2 separate regions of the Homo sapiens genome follow, and region 2 is linked to region 1. Evidence: promoter capture Hi-C in 16 types of primary human blood cells and fetal thymus (Javierre and others, 2016). All regions are on one chromosome and are shown on one strand. The core of a region is centred on a gene start or on the middle of the fragment in contact, and the rest is flanking DNA. Distances in the headings are between cores, read along the strand shown. Region 1 holds the start of TMEM92 (transmembrane protein 92). Region 2 overlaps COL1A1 (collagen type I alpha 1 chain).

What was found. The method cuts DNA at HindIII sites, captures the fragments that hold promoters and counts their contacts. A CHiCAGO score of 5 or more calls a contact.
Region 2: a contact is called between a fragment that was not itself captured here and the fragment with the promoter of TMEM92 in region 1, in 17 of 17 cell types (M1 macrophages, M0 macrophages, megakaryocytes and 14 more). The highest score is 23.3, in M1 macrophages.

The regions. Positions count from the first base shown.
Region 1 is chr17:50,269,767-50,276,076 of GRCh38, reverse strand. It overlaps TMEM92 (transmembrane protein 92), which reads right to left and starts at 1,611. Exons shown (of 5, transcript NM_153229.3): 1 at 1,507-1,611. The coding sequence starts at 1,575. It overlaps LOC124904028 (a long non-coding RNA gene), which reads right to left. Exons shown (of 3, transcript XR_007065846.1): 2 at 4,841-4,918; 3 at 4,674-4,711. RefSeq lists silencers at 1,235-1,529, 2,667-3,006. The HindIII fragment of the contact is 4,587 bases long and covers 1,568-6,154 here.
Region 2 is chr17:50,194,309-50,196,808 of GRCh38, reverse strand. COL1A1 (collagen type I alpha 1 chain) reads left to right here. Exons shown (of 51, transcript NM_000088.4): 12 at 139-192; 13 at 281-325; 14 at 442-495; 15 at 610-654; 16 at 833-886; 17 at 1,144-1,242; 18 at 1,331-1,375; 19 at 1,479-1,577; 20 at 1,709-1,762; 21 at 1,981-2,088; 22 at 2,183-2,236; 23 at 2,362-2,460. Among named protein-coding and RNA genes, the nearest start is that of COL1A1, 6.1 kb to the left of the region's middle. RefSeq lists an enhancer at 1-468. The HindIII fragment of the contact is 9,239 bases long and covers 1-2,500 here.

The sequences.
Region 1 (6,310 bases), core at 362-2,861:
TCACTGCAACCTCCGCCTCCCAGGTTCAAGTGATACTCCTGCCTCAGCCTCCCAAGTAGCTGGGATTACAGGCACGTGCCACCATGCCTGGCTAATTTTTGTATTGTTAGTAGAGATGGGGTTGTTGGTCAGGCTGGTCTGAAACTCCTGACCTCACGATCTGCCTGCCTCGGCCTCTCAAAGTGCTGGGATTACAGGCGTGAGCCACTGCGCCTGGCCTCTATTCTTTAAATTAAAAATATATATATACAGAGAGGGAACTTGGAGACAAATCGAGGGGTCCATCCAGGCACTCAACAGCACCCCTTCCCCCTCAGACCCCACTCTGGCCCTTGTCCTTTTCCTGGACCCCAGCTAATAAGTAATGGATAATTAACAGGTTTAGTAAATTAATCTCAAGTTCCGGTTTGGGAGGGGGAGGAGCTCTTCTCCCAGATTGTCTCCCCACATTTTAACCAGGGGGTAGTCTTGTCTGGGGTGGTTCAGAGGCTGAGTTTTATGGAGCGTCAGGGTGGTCTTGGGCTGGGAGTAAGTAAATCTCAGCTTACTTAACTCCAGAATTGAAGGTATTAACAGCACCTCGCCCCTGGGGTTGGTGGGAGGGGTAAACCAGAGGATGCCCAGCCCAGCATTGACACAAACTGACCGCCCAGTGATTTAGAAGGAACACCTTGCTCACTAACCCGGGTCCACGGAAGGGTTTTGGCAGAGCCTCTCTGAAAGCTCAGCCCAGATGTGTGAAGGTGCCCTGTTCTAAAATCCTAACTATGGAAGACCCTGACTTCCCTCCGGTTCTTAAATGGAAATAAGACACAAATGCATGTTCTAGACCCGTCTCTGTTCCCAGGATAAACACCCATCCCAGGACCGGACAGCTTTCCCCCATCACCTGTAGAGTTTACTTGGGAGGAACAGAAGGGCGGAGGGAACACTCGAACCCTACACCTCCCTCTCAAAATCACAGATTTCAGAGGTCACCCCAGCCTTGGTCAGGCAGCCAGGTCAAATCCCACCACAGGCTGGGATTACTTACCCCTAGAAGGGGACAAAAGAGCCTTCTCTCCCCTAGGGAACAAGCAGAGACACAGTCCCAAAGAGGGTGGGGACATCCCAGGGTCCCCCAGCACTGGAGGAACTGAGCTGGGGCTAAGTGCTGGCCCAGGTGTCCAAAGCTCAGGCGGGAAGGAGCTGGAAGGATAAGCTGAGGCTAATAAGGGGTCCAAAGTCCCTATTCACAGAGACGTGCTAGGTGTCAGATAAGGTGGTGGGTGGTGGCCACTTCCCACCACAGGATCCCCCTCAGAGGTGGGAGAACCCAGCCTCTCCCAGAGCCTCCTCCGCTGCCCCCACCTCCACCTCCACAGCAAAGAGAGAAAGGAAGTAGCTAACTGTGTGTGGTCAGGAGGAAATCCTGATTCTGGAAGGTGGCGACCAGGCTCCAGAAGCAGGCTCCTGACCTACAAGGGTAGGGCCCAAAAGTTCAACAACCTTACCTCCCAGTCTCACCTTTTGGGGGCCAGCCAGCAGGCTGAACAGCAAGGTGGGCGCGAGGCCGGGGACCCAAGCTTGGGACATCCTGGCTTGGGGGCCACTGAGCTTTCCTGTGTAGAGAAGGCGGGGCTGCGACCTCTCCCACTTCTCTCCACCTATGGGGCCCCGCCTCGGGATGGGGGCGGAGCTGCACCGGGAGAGGCGGACTCGGGGCAGGGAGGGGCTGGGAGGAGGAAGGGAGGAAGGGAGGCGCAGAGGTCTGGGTTGGGTTTTGGGATTTGGGAGGTAGAAGAGATTAACGGATTTTTAAAAAAGCGGTCCCGGGCGCGGTGGCTCACGCCTGTAATACCAGCACTTTGGGAGGATCACTTCAGGTCAGGAGTTCGAGACCAGCTTGGCCTACATGGTGAGACCCCCCGTCTCCACTAGAAATACAAAATTTAGCCGGGCGTGGTGGCGGGTGCCTGTAATCCCAACTACTCAGGAGCCTGAGGCAGGAGAATCGCTTGAACCCGGGAAGCAGAGGTTGCAGTGAGCCGAGATCGTGCCAGTGCACTCCAGCCTGGGCGACGGAGTGAGACTCCATCTCTAAATAAATAAATAAATAAATAAATAACCTAAATTTAAAAAGAGGTGGGATCAACTCCACACCGCTGAGCTGGGCCTTCCTAACTCCCAACTCCTCCACTCCTAAGTGCCCCAGACTCCAGGGAGGGGTGCCGGGACCGGCGGGAGTGGGAAGGGGACGTGGAAGCCCCTTCTTATCTGGACCTCTGGGTCTGGTGAGAAGTCAAATGGGGGCAGAGGTTGAGGGAGGGGAAGGCGAAGGTTCTAGGGTAGATTTTGAGGGGTTATGGTTGGGGGATATCACCCCATTGTGTTTTGACCAAAAAGGGAGGGACAGAGCAGCCTGGCTGATTTCAGAGTGCCCTGAGATTTCCAGGTCGAGGAAGGAAGACCAGGAGCACAACGTGGGTACCTTCGTGTCCCCTCCCCTCTTGAAATCCTACAGGAGGTGTTGGTGCATTTTCTCCCATTGACAAAACGGGAACTCAAGGCCCCAGGGTTTAGACTGCCCCGGGGTCCGCAGCTGGGGCTGGTCCTCTGCCAGGCCCGCCGGGGCGCGGGCGAGCAGGCCCATCCAGATTCCTGGAAAGACCCCGCGGAGGCCGCCCCAGTGCGGAGGGGCCTGATTCTGAGCCCCCTGCGGCCGCCGCCTCCAGCACTCCAGGCGCGGAGCTTCCGGGAGCGGCCGGCAGGTGGCAGCGTCGCCCAGCGCGGGTGCCCCCGGGAGCCGGGAGGGGCGCGGCCGGGGCTTGTGGGCTGGGGGCGCTGGGCGAGGGCGAGGCAGGAGCAGTGCAGCCAGGACCGCGGGAGGGGGAGAGGGGGTGATGGAGCGTGGGGCGCTGCTCCCTGGCCCGGCCAAGGGGGACCCTGAGAGGCTCAACGTCATGTCCTTGGGCGCCTCCTGCTGTGTCGCCAATCTGTCTTGACCCCTGAAAAACACCCCCGACGTCGTGGGCGTTTCTTCTCTTTCCTTGCTCTCTGCCTCTCACCCTTCTCCCTCATCTCTCCCAGTCATGTTCTCTGTCTTATATTTAACCCCTCTGTGTCTCTCCCCGTTTCTCCCAGCCTCTGTTTTTCTGTTTCGGTTTCTTCCCATCTGTCCGCACCCAGTTTCTCTCGAGTTCCCAGCCTTTCCCTCTGTTCTCCCGTCTGTTTCTCCTCTCTCTGTTCACCTCTGTCTGCCTCGGCGGAGGCGTCTGTTTTTCTCGGTTTCTCTGGTCCCTTCTCCTTGTCCCTGGTTTGGTCCTGCACCCCCAGTCTCTCGGTCTGTTTCTTATGCTGTCTCCCTGCTCTCTCTCTCCCTTTCCCTGTCTCTATTTCCCATTACCTCCTAGCCCTTTTTGCCCCTTAAGAAGATAATCTTCTAGTCTCCTGATCCGAGGGGTATTGGGATCTGGCCCCTCTGTATTTGAAGTGACTGTGAGCTTGGAGAAGGGAAGGGGCCGCCGTCTCCCCTCCTCCCCTGCAGGTGGACCTTGGCAGGGGGACCTCGTCCTGAGAGTGCTGGAGCCTCCACCTCTTGAGTCGTTGCCAACTTGGGCTGCCAGGGTTCTTCTTGTCCCCACCCAGGCCCCACTGCAACAGCAAGGCCTGGGGTCTCTACCCCACACTCCCTGCTATCCTGCCCAGGCTGGGAGCCCTACAGAGGTGTGGCCCTTACGGGAGAGGAAAATGGGAAAATGGTTGAGCTTAGAGGAGGAAGATACCCTGCGGGGTGAAATGAGGGTGCTGAGAAGGGCATGTGGGAACTCAAGGGACAGATGTGGGGGGTCAGCAGGAGTGGGGGTGAGGGAACTAGGCGGGCACCAGTGCCCTGAAGAGGGGCAGGAGGAGGGGGAGGAGGCTGGCATAGCTGCTCTCTGGGTCTCTGGCATCAACCTGACCCAGATCTAGGGTTGCCGGACAAAAGACAGGAGGCCCAGGTAAATCCAAATTTCAGATAAACGATGAATAATTTCATTTTAGTATAATTATGTCCCATGCAATATATATATATTTTTTGAGAACCAAGACTGGAATGGAGTGGTGTGAGCTCACTGCAACCTCCACCTCCCAGATTCAAGCAATTCTCATGCTTCAGCCTCCCAAGTAGCTGGGATTACAGGCATGTGCCACTATGTCCAGCTAATTTTTTGTATTTTTAGTAGAGACAGGGTTTTACCTTGTTGGCCAGGCTGGTCTCCAACTCCTGGCCTCAAGTGATATGCCCACCTTGGCCTCCCAAAGTGTTGGGATTACAGGCGTGAGCTACTACACCTGGGCCCATGCAATATTTGAGACATACTTATGCTAAAATTTACTTTTCTATCTGAAATTCACATTTAATGGGATGTTCTGTGTTTTTCTTTGTTAAAACTGGCAACCAGGCCAGGCACAGTGGCTCACGCTTATAACCCCAGCACTTGGAGAGGCCGAGGTAGGAAGATCACTTGAGCCCAGGAGTTTGAGACCAGCCTGGGCAACATAGCAAGACCCTGTCTCTGCAAACAAAGAAAACAAAAGCAATTAAGCCGGTGTGGTGGCATGTACCTGTAGTCCCAGTTACTCTGGAGGTTGAGGTAGGAGGATCACTTGAGCCTAGGAGTTCAAGGCTGCAGTGAGCTGAGATCACACCACTACACTCCAGCCTGGGTGACAGAGCACCACCCTCGCTCTAAAAAGAAAAACAAAACAAAACAAAATCTGGCAATGCTATCCACATCGCTACAATGTCCTAGGAACAAACTCCACCCCCACCCCACATCTTCCAATGAAGAAGTGAGGTCCTTAGCACTTGACTCACCAGGCAGAGTCTGAAGGGCTCTTGAGCCCCTCGGCTGGGCCCCCAGTTCCATGACACCAAACTGCCCTACGTTCCTTCCTGCAGATGGGGACAAGATGAGGAGCCTGGAAGTGGGTGGTCCCAGGCCAGGCCAAGAACACCAGGGCCTGTTAGCATTCATCATGGCCCCAGGGCCCTCGGATTTTTGGTGGGTGAGGTCAGAAGGGGGTGGGAGCACCATGGACCCCCCTAGACTGAGCAGAGAAGGGCTGTTCTAGAGGAAGGAGGGTCCTGGACAAGGCCAGCATCTTCTGTTTGGCACGTCACCTAGCACCAGGAGGGCAGCGTGTGCAGGTGCTCAGGCATACACGAGCACAGAAACCCAGAGGCCTCATGTAGTCAGCGGCCCCCTAGATTCAACACCAAATTCCATCTGGGGTTTCCCAAGAGCAGCCACTTCGAAATGTCTTCATAAACGCTCGCTGGGCCCCCAGTGCATTCACTAAAGAATGAGCTGATTGTGCATCCTGCCGGGGCCCAGCTGGAAGGAGGGGCCTCCGAGGCCAGCCGGCCCACTTACGCCCTTCTCAGAGGAGGCAACCAGGGCCTGGAGAGCGGGAAGGCCAGGTCGCACAGGACATGAGGGGCTGAGTCAGGATCAGAACCATGCAGCGCTCAAGACGCCACACCCAGCACAGGTGGCACTCACCTCGGGCCTGGGGAGCCCTGCTCCACTGCTCTGGATGGAGGATCACTCAGGGTGGGTGGCCTCGCCTAGCCTGGCTCAGCCCAGCCCAGGGGGCCAGGCTTGGGTGAAGGGGAAGAGCCAGGGTGAATTCTGTTTTACTTGGCAGTCCCCCCCACCCCCATACTTTGGTGGACACTAATATCTGTAATGGCTGATGGCACTAGGCTGGGATCTCTTTTCAAAGCCAGCAGAATGCTCTGCTCTAGCCCGGCTCTGCCTGTAGGGGCAGTATTGTGTCGTGTTAGTCAGTGTGCCACTGAATATGTTGTGCTGTGTGACCTTAGACGAGAAATGGAACTTCTCTGGGCCTCTCTCAACAGGAAGGAGAGGGAGGAGTTGGATAACAGTACCTCCCTCATCATATAGGCCATGATGAGGATGAAACAGGCCGCTCAGAGTCTGGCATACAGTAATGGCAAATAAATGCTAGCTGTCATTCCTGGCAGAGACAAGGGGCCCATACTTCCTTCTCTGCATTTCACATGGAGGCAGAGTGGGGTGCCAAGGAGTGCAGGGTCTCGCTGCTTTTGGACTGCTCACCTCCCTGGATGGGCTGCAGCATCCAACCCCAGTTTCCCCAGGAAGCTTTGCTCACTAAACCCCTCTGCTGTCCACTGGGCCCCACTTAAGGCCAGTCAGGCCTGAGAAGGTGGGGCTGGTGACAGATCCCAGAGGATGTCCGTCCAGGTGCCGACCACTCCTGAACGTGGTCTGGGACTGGAGATGTGATTCCCTCCACTCCC
Region 2 (2,500 bases), core at 1-2,500, 79 kb after region 1:
CAGTTGGGGTTTAGTCTAGCTCAGAAACAAAGGGATGGCGGTGATGACCTCCCAAGGCTCTTTCTCAGATCTAGGTGGATGTCAAGGCTGTTCCACCCCCTCCACAGGTTCTTACCTTCTACCTCTTTCCTGCTTTAGGGTTTCAGTGGTTTGGATGGTGCCAAGGGAGATGCTGGTCCTGCTGGTCCTAAGGTAAGAGGCTGTCTGAACATCATGGTCCTCCACATCCCCAGAGTCCCACCATGAATGAATTTCTCACTCATTATTCTCTGATCTACAGGGTGAGCCTGGCAGCCCTGGTGAAAATGGAGCTCCTGGTCAGATGGTGAGTGTGCCCAGTTCCAGAGGGCAGGGATGGGGCAGGAGGCAGGGGCAAGATGGAGGCCTGGGGGAACAAGGCTGTCTCCCATCTCATCTGACTTCTCTTGGTTTGGTTGTCAGGGCCCCCGTGGCCTGCCTGGTGAGAGAGGTCGCCCTGGAGCCCCTGGCCCTGCTGTAAGTACTCCTGGCCCCTTGGGGGATCCCTGAGCTCTGGAAGGGGCTCCCCAGGAACTCTAGGGACTGGCCAGTGCTCAGTGGACTTAACGGGGCTTCCCCTCTCTCCTGCAGGGTGCTCGTGGAAATGATGGTGCTACTGGTGCTGCCGGGCCCCCTGTGAGTGTGGCCTGTAGGCCTCAGGGCCTGGGAGTGGGGAGGGGTCTCAGTATCTGCTCTTGGGGCTGACAATGGGAGCAGGTTATGTTGGTCTGAACCCCAGGACTTCCTCTGTCCCAGGGTGTGACTTGCAGCTGCCATCTCTTCCTTCTCGCTGACATCTCCATTTCATTCACAGGGTCCCACCGGCCCCGCTGGTCCTCCTGGCTTCCCTGGTGCTGTTGGTGCTAAGGTGAGACCCCCCACTCTCCTCTAAGCATGACCCTCATGGGCCAAGGGGTTCATGTCTCCCTGTTCCCCAAACCAAAGGGACCCAGAGTGGCAAGAGAGCAGCCCGTTCACTAACACCTTTGTCCTGGGTTCTCCGTCTCTGATCTTAGAGTCCTGATCATTGCTCTCCTGTCCCTGTCTCCCCTTCCTCCTGCCATCCCGAGAGGCAAGGTTGGGTTTCCCAGGGTGGCTTCTGATATGTCCTTTCTTCTGATTCAGGGTGAAGCTGGTCCCCAAGGGCCCCGAGGCTCTGAAGGTCCCCAGGGTGTGCGTGGTGAGCCTGGCCCCCCTGGCCCTGCTGGTGCTGCTGGCCCTGCTGTAAGTGTCCCCGACTCAGTGTCCCCTTTGCCACTTTCTAACCTCAGAGTCCTTGCCTGTTGCTGACACTCCTTTCTCTGTGCCACAGGGAAACCCTGGTGCTGATGGACAGCCTGGTGCTAAAGGTGCCAATGTAAGTATCCTGCCAGGCTTCAGTCCCACTCCTGCCGCCTGCAGCCTGCCTGCCCCTTTCCCTCTGCTCCTAGGCTCACGCCCTGGCTGTCTGCCTCCCACAGGGTGCTCCTGGTATTGCTGGTGCTCCTGGCTTCCCTGGTGCCCGAGGCCCCTCTGGACCCCAGGGCCCCGGCGGCCCTCCTGGTCCCAAGGGTAACAGCGTGAGTACCAAACTCTCCCTTCTGCCCACCCCATGCACTGGCTCCAGTGCGGCTCTCATCTGGGGAGCAGGAAGACGCAGGCCAACTGAGCGCCCCCGACTCTCAGCTCATCCTCTTCTCCCCCCTTGCAGGGTGAACCTGGTGCTCCTGGCAGCAAAGGAGACACTGGTGCTAAGGGAGAGCCTGTAAGTCTCCCCGCCATCCTTCTTGCAGCCCAGCCCACCCTGCCCTAGGAGCCCCCTGAGGGAAATCCAGAAAGGAAGAGGAGCCCCTAGTCTTCTGGGGGAGTCCCTGCCACACCCCCAGGAACCCCTGACACTGGAGGCCCAGCCTCAGCCGGCTCTGAGGCTGGCACAGGATGGCCCCTCACCACAGGCCGCCTCCTCCTCTCGGCCCTCTCCAGGGCCCTGTTGGTGTTCAAGGACCCCCTGGCCCTGCTGGAGAGGAAGGAAAGCGAGGAGCTCGAGGTGAACCCGGACCCACTGGCCTGCCCGGACCCCCTGGCGAGCGTGTAAGTGTCCCTGCCCGCCCCCTCCCGCTCCACCCTCATTGCCTGGCTGGTGCCTGTGTGTCGCGGAGTTCACTGGCCTCCTCTCCTCCTGCAGGGTGGACCTGGTAGCCGTGGTTTCCCTGGCGCAGATGGTGTTGCTGGTCCCAAGGTAACCTCTCCTTGCGGCCGGGGGGCTGACCCTGCCGCTCCCTGGGCATCTTCTTCCTCTTTTGGCCCGTGGCAAAGAGCCACAAACTTGAGACCCTAACTGTTCCTGTGACTTCCCCCAACCAGGGTCCCGCTGGTGAACGTGGTTCTCCTGGCCCTGCTGGCCCCAAAGGATCTCCTGGTGAAGCTGGTCGTCCCGGTGAAGCTGGTCTGCCTGGTGCCAAGGTGAGGCCCCAGGCTTTCAGCCTGGCTTGGCCAGGCCCTG